Linked DNA regions of Homo sapiens: regions 2 and 3 are each linked to region 1. Evidence: promoter capture Hi-C in human tissues and cell types (Jung and others, 2019). All regions are on one chromosome and are shown on one strand. Each heading gives the region's core, a stretch centred on a gene start or on the middle of the fragment in contact. The rest is flanking DNA. Distances are from core to core; before and after follow the strand shown.

The links. The method cuts DNA at HindIII sites, captures the fragments that hold promoters and counts their contacts. A contact is called where the count stands out against the background at its distance.
Region 2: a contact is called between a fragment that was not itself captured here and the fragment with the promoter of ADAMTS12 in region 1, in 6 of the 25 tissues and cell types used here (H1 embryonic stem cells, bladder, dorsolateral prefrontal cortex and 3 more).
Region 3: a fragment that was not itself captured here is called in contact with the fragment with the promoter of ADAMTS12 in region 1 in 1 of the 25 tissues and cell types used here (bladder).

The regions. Positions count from the first base shown.
Region 1 is chr5:33,889,792-33,893,851 of GRCh38, forward strand. ADAMTS12 (ADAM metallopeptidase with thrombospondin type 1 motif 12) reads right to left here and starts at 2,199. Exons shown (of 24, transcript NM_030955.4): 1 at 1,939-2,199. The coding sequence starts at 2,065. RefSeq lists enhancers at 1,481-1,982, 1,983-2,482. The HindIII fragment of the contact is 6,841 bases long and covers 1-3,937 here.
Region 2 is chr5:33,838,878-33,842,937 of GRCh38, forward strand. All of the region lies in intron 2 of ADAMTS12 (ADAM metallopeptidase with thrombospondin type 1 motif 12), which reads right to left. Among named protein-coding and RNA genes, the nearest start is that of ADAMTS12, 51 kb to the right of the region's middle. The HindIII fragment of the contact is 3,081 bases long and covers 581-3,661 here.
Region 3 is chr5:33,923,523-33,927,582 of GRCh38, forward strand. No RefSeq gene overlaps it. Among named protein-coding and RNA genes, the nearest start is that of RXFP3, 11 kb to the right of the region's middle. The HindIII fragment of the contact is 5,149 bases long and covers 1-4,060 here.

The DNA.
Region 1 (4,060 bases), core at 949-3,448:
AAATACAAAAATTAGCCGGGCATGGTGGCACACGTCTGTAATCCCAGGTACTTGGTTGGCTGAGGCAGGAGAATCACTTGAACCCGGGAGGCAGAGGTTGCAGTGAGCTGAGATTGCACCACCGCACTCCAGCCTGAGAGACAGAGCAAGACTCAGCCTCGAAAAACAAAAACCTCTAATTATTTTTAAACCTAAATAAATATATATATCACCAATAAGCTTGGAGCACTTTATAGGTTTTTTGAACAGTGGATACTCTCAGCACATAGCTCTAGATAGAGGTGACTAGGGAAAATAATCATATCTCACTTTCCAGAGAGCAAAAACCATGGCCCCGTGGTGTCTGCTTCACACCAAGCTGAATTCCCTTACAAAGAAGATGTGGAGCAGAGCTGAAAACCAACCCAGGAGAATGTGTGTCTTTGAACGAAATCATCTCCAAATGCCCTGGGAAGTGCTTGCAGGCTTTGTTTGTGCTGCCCCAGAAGGGAGACTTTTCACAAAGGAACTGTTTTTCAAAGAACAACAAGCCCTGCTATTTTAAACTTGGGGGTGGGAGATTGTATCTGGACCGTTTACACAAGTGAGTGCTGGCTGACTGACATCTAACCCCAGTGTTTGCTGGCTCCAGCTTTCCAAGTAAAGCAAAGAGAGGGACTTGCTTCTGATACGTCTTGAAGCCACAGCAGATGAGTTGTCCAGCAATATTTGAATTTTACAACATGAGCAGAAAACCCTGCTTAGAAATCCTAAACAAGGACAGGCTGGTGATGTTTATCACCCGAGTGGCCTTGGGAATTAAAGGGATGTCAGAAAGTCATGGAGGACACTTCCCGAGGCTTCAGCACAGTCAGCAAACACAGGACTTAGTGCATGCTAACCCAGTGCTCTGTGTGCGTGTGCATGCGTGTGGGTGCATATGCGTGTGTGTGTGCGTGTGTGTCCCTATTATTGCTACAGGACAGTGCTGCATGATTCTAAGAGTCAGACTACCTGAGCTGAAAACTCTGCTCTACATTAGCTGGCCTCATAAGCTCTCCAAGCTGCAGCATCCTCATCTGTACAGCAGGGACAGCAACACTGGTACCTGCACCCTGGAAGGCTATTGCCAGTGATCGGATGGGCTGACACAGAGTGCCACGCGGGCCATTGCTGCTGCTAGGACTGTTTACCCCCAGAGGTACAATGAACCCCCCACCAAACATGAAGGTGCCTCTGACCCTTCCAAGTCCAATAAACTGCTGACTGTTAGGCTTAAAAGAATAAAACAACAACAACAAATTGTCCACCAGAACGCTTCCAATGCTTCCTACAATAACATGAGTTCAGAAATTCATAAAGAGAAGCAGCCAGCTGTGGTCAGTGAGACAGGACAGGAAAAAGTGAGCCCTTATGGAGGTATAGTTCCCCCAAAAGGACTATTCTTTCAAAAATACAACCCTAAATCTTTCCAGGAAACCAAAACACAGCCAAGCCTGCTCAGTAGGGGGGAAGAATCACATTTCCCCTTTCCTGACCAGAGGTTTAAAACTAACTAGAAACACTGCAATGACGGCCAGTAGCCAGTTAGCACTTAAAAAAAAAATTTTCCATGTTTAGAGTCTGAAAAATAGGGGATCAAAACAGTACAGCATTCAAAGAGGAGACAAAAGAGAAAAAGTTACCAGCTACCTCTTGGGTCTTTCAAAGACTGCAGTGTCATCCCTGTAAAAGAGTGAGGTACTCACCTTTCTATAAGAATGAAGGACTCATCACCTTAAGCACTGAATTCTGAGAAAGCCTAGGCTCCTGAGGTCCCAGCCCAGATTTCCTTACAACGCAGCCAAATGGCTTTTCAGAGTTCAGTTCTGCCGGGTGGGGGAAGGGAAAGGGGAGCAACAAAATTCCCGCAAGTCTTACCACCACTGTTTTAAAAAGAAATAAAGAAGAGTCACTAACCTTGCCTCCTGTCCGGGAAGCGAACCGGGCCTGGCTGAGGCTGTCTCCCATAGCAAAGCGCCCCAAAGTTAAGGAGCTGAGCCACCACGGAAAGGTTTGCAAGCCAGCTCCTCTGGGCACATGGCATGATTCAGATGTTGAGGAGAAGAAAAGTCAAAAAAGTTTTAGCCCTCAGCTCCAGAAATAAAGCGCTCGCCTGTGGCCCAGCAGGAAGATGCAGGGGTGCATGGTCAGGCGCGAGAAGGCAGCGACTGCAAAGCTGCCCGCGATCTCCCTGTGCTTTTTTAAGCAGAAAGGAGCTAGACACCTTTTTCCCCTCCCTCCTCCTAAAAGGGGAGTGATTCAGCTGACAGTGTCCGCTTTCGGCGGGGTGTGGAATGGGCCAGAGCGGGAGGGCGCAGCCCACCCCGGTCCCCACCCCTCCGCCTCCCGCATGCCCCGCGGCCTCGCAGCCCGCCCGCTCGGTGCATCTTCCTCCCGGACTCCCACCCCCGCGCTCCTCCGGCCCCGCCCCGAACGCCAGGCCCAGCTGGCCGAGCCGGCCAAATAGGGGAGACCCGGGAGAGCCGCCCTGGGAGGCACTGGAGGAAGCTGCGAGTGAGAGGCCCCCAGGCCAGCCCCCCGGCGTGCTTAAATACAAGCTCAAAATGAGGAGAACAGAGTTGAGGCAGAGGGGGGCCCCACTCCCTCCATCCTTCCGCGCTCAGCGCTGCCCCCTCCCCTGCTGTTCTCCTCCAAGTTCCTGAACTTTTCCCAACATCGCTCTATCAAGACTCCTCACCCACTCGGACCGCTCTGGGATTCTCTTCCACTGGAAAAACTAATAGGCGATTTTTCTCTTTGCCAAGTCACACAAAGGGAAATGGGCTGCGCTAATCTGCTAATGTGACCTCAGACAAGCCCCCTCAGCTGTGCAATGAGGTGACTGCTGCAAATGCCTGTGGGCCCCTCTGAGTCTGCAGATCTCTGTGCGGCTCTTCTGATTCTAGAACCCCATCTTTCCTAGCCCACCTCCATTCACTCAAAAGGAAACCAGGAATTAAGTCAACCCAGGAAGGTGTTAAGGTATCTCCCCAGTTTCCCTGAACTGGCTACCCTGGAGAGGGCGTCCATTCATTCAGAGGCTCAAGCTTTTACATCGGTCAGAGAATGCCACAATCCAGGACGCTTGCCAGGCATCTTGAGAATTTACTGGGCTAATCCAGCCAAGATTTTTCACCTCTGAGCTGAAACAGGCCTCCTTACTCCATTCAGGAAGAATTCGGCCCCCAATATTGACTTTTCCCTGGCTGCCAGCCAACCACATGTGTTAATCAAGAGTTCTGGGATACCAGCTTACTCAACCTTGTATAGGGACAGAGCCTCCAAGGCAAACTCAGTGGTCTGAAAGCAAGGTGGTCCTCTCAGATGTGGAACACATGGGCACCAAGACTTTGAGAGGTATATGCTAGTTTCCTATTTTTGGTGTTACAAGTTACCATAAATTCAGTGGCTTGAAACAACTCAAATTTCTTATGTGACAGTTCTGATCTGAAACTGGTCTCACTGGGCTAAAATCAAGGAGTTAGCACAGCTGCATTCATTTCTGAAGACTCTAGGGGAGAATCTGTTGTCTTGCCTTTTCCAACTTCTAGAGGCTGCCTGAATTCCTCAGCTCATGGCCCTCTTCCCCCATCAAAGCTAGCAATGGCCCTTTGAGTCTTTCTCACATCACATCACTCTTCTTCCTCCCTTTTCCACTTATAAGGACCCTTGCGATTACATTAGACTCATCCTGGTTAACCAGGACACTCTCCTAATCAGCTGATTAGCAACCTTAATTCCATCTGCAACCTTAAATCCCCTTTACGTGTAACAGAACATGTTTTGTTGTCACAAGCAAGTAAAAGAACTACTCTGAGCCTTTTTTCTGTTACGTAAACATTAGGAAGCAGGATCACAACTGGAGTTAAAAGACATTCAGATAACACAGGCATGATGACCTGCATTTGCAAGGGCATTGAAGAACAACTTTGGGCTAGAATTCTTTTTGCTTCTTTTCTTTTCTTCCTCTTCCCCTTCTTCTTTGCTTCCCTTCACCCTTTCCTTGTTTCTCTCTCCTCCTTGTACTCTTCTGTCACTC
Region 2 (4,060 bases), core at 871-3,370, 51 kb before region 1:
AGGGCAGATAATGGACTAAAACTCTTAGAAACAATAACATGGTTTTATAGTCACTGCCCCTTCTGCTGGATAAAAAACGACTGGATTCAAACTCCCAATTCTGGCATTAACCTGAGTTGCTATGTCAACTGTGTGTCCAACTTCCTTTGATCGCAGTTCCCTCCTCTAAAACGTGAAGATCCTAAAACAGGTCTTTTCAAACTTGATCTTTCTGTGATTTAAAAAAGAGGCAGAAGAGCGTTGAGATCAAGATCACAGGAGCTGAGGGTAGGCTCCTTTAATCTTCTCTCCATATGTGACTTTTAGAAAGGCACTTAACATGTTTGTGCCTCAGTGTCATTGTCTACAAATAGGAGATGATAAGAATATCTATGTTATAAGATTCTAGTAAGCTTTGGCAATATAAGCTGTGTGTGCTATTATTAGCAGAAATCTTTTATCCCACATTTCAAGTGTCTTTTATAGGCTAATCAATATGAGGGACTGTAGGTTTAACCGTATTTTAGACCTGAATTTTGGTGTATGCTGTTGTCAGTCATTTTATTGTCACGCTAATTGGTGTGTGTCCTTTCCACATCTGTGCATTACTAAGTCACACTGAGGCACATGCTTTTCCTTCTTTACAGGATCCCAGGTCAATTTTCTTTCCTAGTTGAACATATGGTGGCTCCAACTCTGGAAGGGAACCAGAGAATGAGGTCTGCGCTCCATGCTGAGGGGAGCCGACTGAAGACAGAGGGTCCTTTCTTGGTTTCCACCAACATCAAGCTTCTTGCCTCCTAGGTTTGACTGTCCACTTTAAAACTCCTCCCACAACACAGTGTTCTCCACCCTTATCCCCACCACCGTGCCCTGCCCACTCAAAAAGGTTGTATCGCGTTCTTCACTGAAACGCAAGCAATACAAACATTAGCCCTGCTTCTCCGCATTTGTCCGTGCTATCATTTTTGTTCACTATAAACAAATACAGTAGTTTGCTTGGTAACTTCATGAAACGGGAAGAAGACAGTTCTTCTGTGTTTTACTAGGGCTGAATCAAGTGACTAGCTAGGAAGAAAAAGACACTACAAAAAGAAGACGGTTTGGGCATTAAATAATTCAAATTTATTCCTCTAAATGTATTTTGATGAAAAGATAAATCTTTCTAAGCAAACTCACTAATTCCCCATTCACTGACTTTCCTTGACAAAGCCTAAGGATCTCCACTTGCAGAAAGACACCAAATCTCCATGAAGGAAGAAGTGCCCCAGAGGCAAGTTTACTTACACCCATTTTCTCCAAAGCTTTACAAAAGCAGGGTGATCTCTGGCCAGGATGTGAAATATCAGCATAGCCTACTTTATTCTTTTACATCTTCATCTTCCTCTTTGTAAGATCTCAGGTAAAGATATACAATGCTTGAGCTCTAGGGTCTCACTGTATGTATTCAAATTCTTTTCTCCTTACTACTTCTGTTTAGGAAGGGTTTCCTAACACTATCTCCTTGCTTCAGTTTCTCCATCTCACCCTTTAATTAACCATGGCATGTTGGTGAAGACCTCAGGATGAAGAACCTGGCAGCCTGGGTTAACTCACAGCTTGGCCACAGATGTGCCACCCTGAGCAACTCACCTAAGTTCCCTGTGGCCTGTTTCCTCTTCTCAACTGTGGAGATGATAATGGTACCACCTCATAGATTAGTTGTGAAGGTTATGTGAAATAAAGAAGTAAGCACCTCTGACAGTGCCTGGCACACAGTCAGGTGTTGAAACTGGTTGTAGCCATGGGAAGCTGTACTAACAGTATTCAGCTCTATGCCCAAGGCCCCAGGAATGCAGCAGCCTTACTTACTGCAGCCCTTCTGGCATATGAGACCCTGGATCCCCAGGGCCACCCTGCAGGGATAGGAGGAATCCTCGGCCTGCAGGTGCAGCCCTTGTTTGGTCACTGATCAGCCTCTGACACCTTTGGTTTAGTGCAGTGCTAATCCAAAGGCAGCCTCAGATGCAGTACTAAGCCAAATCAGCCTCAGTTTAGTGCAGTGCTAAACCAAATCAAACTCAGATGCTTTAGGTTTAGTGCAGTGCTCAAATCAACTGAAGCTAAGCATTCCAGTCCTGCTGAACTGAGCTGCTCCCACCCTTAGCTCTGCCATGTCCCTCCAGTCTGTGTGGCACATATGGCCAATTGAGCTGCTCCCACCCTTAGCTCTGTCTTGTCCCCCCAGTCTGTGTGGCACACATGACCACACAGTCTCCTGGCTGGATTCTCTCCCTGAACCCCAGACTGTTCAATCAGGCTTCAATAGCCACAGCCCTTACCAGTACTGCTAGGGTTTGGTGACTCCAGGCCCTGCTGCAGCTCCCTCCACCTCCTGCCCCACAACCTCACAGTTGTCTGCAGCTACTCCCTCCTTCCTTTTCATCCTTTTTGTAGCATAAAGGGCCTGTACTTCCATCTAAGGCAAAGTCTTCTCACTGTGCTGTCAGCTTTGGACCTCTTACTTCCTCTGCCACTTCATTTCACCAACCATCCTGTCTCTGGTTAACCTCTGGTTCTCCTGTGGCTTTGCTCATTTCTCTTTCAACTTCCAAAAGAAAAACTCAAACTCACACTTTTTGTTCTCCTCATGCTCTGACCTGTATTTTTCTTTCTTTCAAATAGGGTGGCCTACATTTGGAGCATAACCCATTTTTGCCTAGTGTTCCATTATTGGAATGCTAAGCTTGTAGGAGTTATTTTTATCCTACTGCTCAAGGTCGTCGCCAAGGTCTGATTTTTCACACACAAAAACTTGCAACCTCTGGCATAAATGGGTTAATTTCCTACTATTCAGTCTTGCATGTAAGTGCATTATGGTTTCTGCTCTCTCCCCATCAATGGGACTGCTATGCTAGGGTTCCTGACAACGCAATGCAAGAAGGAGCATTTGTGCTGAGTCCTAGATGCTACCAAGCAGTCCAGAGTAGGGTAGGGTATTCTGGGAGAGAAGTAATTTTTTATGCAGACTCATGCTTCTCTCCTCATCAAAATCTTTCAGCCAGGGCCACATGGGTCAATAGGTTCTACCTCTCATTCTTACACAACCATGAAATTCCACACCCTGACACATCTTCATTTTCCTCTTACACCATCCCCTTTTTGACTTCATGATCTCCCTGAACACCTGGACACCCGGGTAAATGCCATTAGCACCACTCATGCAATCGGGTGAAGCCTCAGTTTTGTCTCCTTAACCATCTCTCAGCAATGCCTTCTCAATCTCCAGAACAAAAGGATTATGACTTTACTTTGTTAAGACATCTAAGTAGACAGGCCCAGCGAGTCATTGGAAACGTTCATCTGTAACTCATAAGAGAAGCAAAATAATTGGTAATCCTATGCAAAAAAGCGAAATGTGCTTTCTTCATGCCTTTTCTCCCCTGACTCTTTCATCTTTGTTGTGGTCCTCATTCTTCCTTTCTAATTTTTACATAAATTTAAAAGGTGCTTTACTTAGGGAACTATTACAAATTATTCTGCTGAATCATGGTAAAATAGAATTTGCTTTGGGGATGGCTCCAGTATAAGAAAATCCTCAAGGTTGCAGCTTTCCACAAAGGGAGGGTTCACAAAAGTCTAAGTCCTCATAGCATAAAAGCTTTTAGAGCAAAAATAATTTAAAACAGGAGTTGTCTACACTGCAACTTTTAAACAGAGCTTTTCATGCTGAAATTAGCACAAAGCTTACTTAATATCCAGAGTGCTGCATAAGGAACTATTGAGGAAACGCAAGGGGCAGCTGGAAAAACAGAGGAAAGTGGGAGGCAGGCATGGTGCCAGGCACTGGGACAGTCTCTCCATCTAAGCCCTCTAACAGTGCAGAGACCCTGTAGGTGACCCATAAAAGGACAGAAGACCCCTGGACACCAGGACAGTAGGCATCATACCAAGAGCCAGGATAACAGTGGGGTGCGAACACACATTCAGAAAGCTAAGGCTAGAAAAACTACAAAAGACAGAGCCAGACTTGGTGAGCTCCAAGAAACACTAAGGTAGAGCTGGGAATCTGTAGCTAAGCCAGCATAGGGTCAACTTCATA
Region 3 (4,060 bases), core at 540-3,039, 33 kb after region 1:
CCCAGCTGCTGCCCAATGCCAATAAAGTAGCATGGAGGTCACTTAAAATGTGAGCAAGATACAACTGCCTCTTGCCATACACAGAAATGGTTGCCATTTCATTTCCACCTGTGCACCCCTTAAGTCCTTGGTGATGACACTAACTTCTGCAGGATTCCTCCAAGTATATGGTATGACTTTTGGTTTACTATTTTGGTGAGGAAAAGCCACTCTACTAGCTTCCACTTGGGCTTCTACAGTAGCCCTCACTCCATGGACCAGGGAACCAATAGAGGAATTCTGCGCATTGTTGAGTAATTCAATTATGCATTCTGTAACTGAGTAAATAACCACAGTGTGGTTTAGGGGACACACTAAGCCCACCATATGACAGAGCTTAGCCAAAATTTCATTGATCACCTGATGTCCATAAGCTTCTATTCTGATTAGTGGCCCACAATGCAATGTTGGGCCTTTAGGAATTAGTGTCAATTCAGAGCCAAAGTCTAGCTATTTCTTCTCCTCTATTCCCAGTCACACTGGCAAATGAATGCAAGTTCTTTTGGTGAAAGCTAAAGAGAATGATTACAATACAAATTTTTGGCTGTTTTTCACAGTTCTTCCTTGAAGGTACCTGGCCTCCCTTTCATCCAAGGGACTCCGCATCTATAAACTGGTTCAAATCTGGTAATTATTTGAGGGACAACATCTCTGTTACTGTGATTCAAGTTAGATCTCTGTTCACAAAGTTTAGTGACTTTTTTGCTTGTACATATCAAGTAAGACCTTACAAGGTTGTCCACCTATTTCAGTCCTAGAAACAATGGTCAATTAGCACTGAAGTCATAGGTCAAACCATTCTGATCATTGCTTCCACTTTGCTGCATACTGTCATGCCTTTCCTACTTCACCTCTGCTAATTCAGGGCCTCCACTGGGCCCCTGCCACCCTGAAATCCCATTATCTTCATTGAATTCAAGGAGTCTAGGTCAATGACAGCAGTTCCCACTTGCATTCCTGGCCTACTGATAACAACTCCACAGAGGTCTTCAAAGATGCCCAGGGTCCCCTCATGAATGTATTTCTTGCTGCCTTGTTGAAAGAGTATACACAGTTAGGGATGAGTAAGCAGATCTTACGTGGTAAATCTACTTTACCATGCCTATCATCCTAAGCATCTGGGTAGTGTCCCTTGTAGTATACTGAGACATTTCTAAAATTTCTGGCATTTCAGTTTAAATTTTGTCTAGGATACTTCTAGATCCATGTTTCAACCAACCAACAAGTACACTGTTAGAGCCACTTCCTATAGCTTGAACTAATATACTAAATCTAGAATCTCTGCATGCTGTACTCATATCAACAAATGTGACCAGACCAACATTGCATTTCTTCCACCATAATCCAGCACTTTTAGGATCCATTTCCATAAATGTTCTCAGTTTCCATCAACAACATTGATAAACTTGCAATTATTTTGGTGTATACTGTACTTTCTTCACGTGTCACGCTTAAGTATTCCCAGACTCCCTGGGGCCTGCCAGGACTTTGTCTGATTATAGAGCCCCCTCTTTAAACAGGGGAGGTAGTCCTTAGGATGACCAAAAGCCCTTTGCAAGGCCCTAACCTCAGGGCAGAATGTCTTTAGGCAAGAAGAGGCTAACATCCTCAGATAGAGAAGAACCTAATTTTTTTAAGATATGGAGAAAAGATTTTTCACAATTCAAAGACAGTTTGAGGATACTTTAGTGATCATTACGTTGAACAAACCACGATAATTGCTAATTTCAATGGAGACAAAACATTGTGCAAGAAAAAAAAAACAATTGCTATATACTGTATGGCTCAATTGTTAGTAAAGTCATTACAGCATAAATGCTAGAAATTGATCTTTCAAAAGTACAACAGAACCAAATGGGGAGGTGTTAGAATGTTACTAGAAGTGAAAGAGCAATGTGTGAGAAAAAGGGCTACTCACCTTCCACAGTAGGAACTGAAAAATAATGCCTAAAATGAAAACATAGAGTAGCAATATAAGCATATCAGCTAGAGTTATTGAGCTATATAGTAAAAGAATTGTTTAAAACATTTGAATGTGCCTATGGGCAGAAGAAATATAGAGGACCCAGCTATTGGGGAACTGAAATTTTCATGTTTTACTCTTCCACAAGTGCTTCTGATTTAATTGTTTTAAGATTGGCACTGGGCATCAGTATTTTTAAAAGGCTTCACCCTTGCTTTAATGTGCAGGTGGCTTTAAGCTAGATGCAGGTATAGGTTAGGCAAAAATAAAATATTTTAAAATGTCAATTCCCCTAGAGTTACACTTGGATATTCTACATGAGTGGATAGTTAGGGGAAACTTGTAAGTTACCTTTTAAGGATTTTTGGATTGCCTTCCTAAGAGGAAACCACCTGAATGTAGACTCCAATCAACAAGCCTGTTCTGTGCTCACACATGTGAAAGATTTGGGCTCAGCACTAAGAGCAAACAACCACGATGATGATACACGGCCTGTCCACAAGAGGATGACACCCTTTGAAATGAGATGAGAAATATACTGAAAGAGCCACAGCACTCCTTACACAGGTACGTATGCCTTAAGAGATATGCTAATAGAGGGTTCTAAGATTGAGAGGGGAAAAAAATCACACCTGTTTCTTTTTCTTTTTTCTTTTTCCTTTTTCTTTTCTTTTTTTTTTTTTGAGATGGAGTCTCTCTCTCTTGGCCAGGCTGGAGTGCAATGGTGCAATCTCGGCTCACTGCAACCCCTGCCTCCCAGGTTCAAGCAATTCTCCCTGCCTCAGCCTCCCGAGTAGCTGGGATTACAGGTGTCCACCACCACACCCAGCTAATGTTTGTATTTTTAGTAGAGATGGGGTTTCACCGTTTGGCCAGGCTGGTCTCGAACTCCTGACTTCAAGTGATCCACCCACCTTGGCCTCCCAAAATGCTGGGATTACAGGCGTGAGTCACTGCCCCCAGCCTACCTGTTTCTTAAGAAATTAGGGAAGGCTTCCCAAAGAAGGTAGCATTTTGCCTTAAAGTACAGGTCAGATTGAAACACATTGAAATGAGGGAAAAGAGAAAACATTCACAAGAACATTTTTAGCAAAGGCACCAATCTGGGAAAACAGAGATTGACATGTGTGCATCCACAGTGATAAAACTTGACAATCAGATTAATGAGTGAGGATGGGGAAGCAAGCGGTGGCTGATTTAAAACCAGACTATTGTGGGCTGGGCGTGCTGGCTCACGCCTGTAATCCCAGCACTTTGGGAGGCCGAAGTGGGTGGATCTCTAGGTCAGGAGTTCAAGACCACCCTGGCCAACATGGTGAAACCCCGTCTCTACTAAAACTACAAAAATTAGCCGGGCGCAGTGGCAGGTGCCTGTAATTCCAGCTACTTGGGAGGCTCAGGCAGGAGAATCGCTTGAACCCGGGTGGCAGAGGTTGCAGTGAACTGAGATCACGCCACTGCACTCCAGCCTAGGTGACAGAGTGAGACTCTGTCTCAAATAAAATAAAATAAAATAAAATAAAATAAAATAAAATAAAATAAAATAAAATAAAACCAGACGATGGAGAAATAAATCTTCTCTTTTTATTTTTCCACAAAGTAGATCCTCCTGAACAATACAATCAAATTATCCACCAGCCTAATTTTCCAGTAGAAATTTATATGGCAAGATTTTGGTAATATTTTAACAGTACACTGACATGGTATTTGACCATGATTGTGATGCCCCTCTCCTTGAAATTTTTAGATCCTGTTTGAGTAAACCATGGCCCATACTTTTAAGATAAGTGATCTAAAATATCTTTAAGTGTTTTTGGAAAAGAAGTCATTTGAAAAGGGATTTTTTTAGGCTGGGCACAGTGGCTCACGCCTGTAATCCCAGCATGTTGGGAGGCCAAGGCGGGTGGATCACAAGGTCAGGAGATTAAGACCATCCTGCTTAACCAGGTGAAGCCCTATCTCTACTAAAAATACAAAAAATTAGCCAGGTGTGGTGGCACGTGCCTGTAGTCCCAGCTACTCGGGAGGCTCAGCAGGAGAATCGCTTGAACCTGGGAG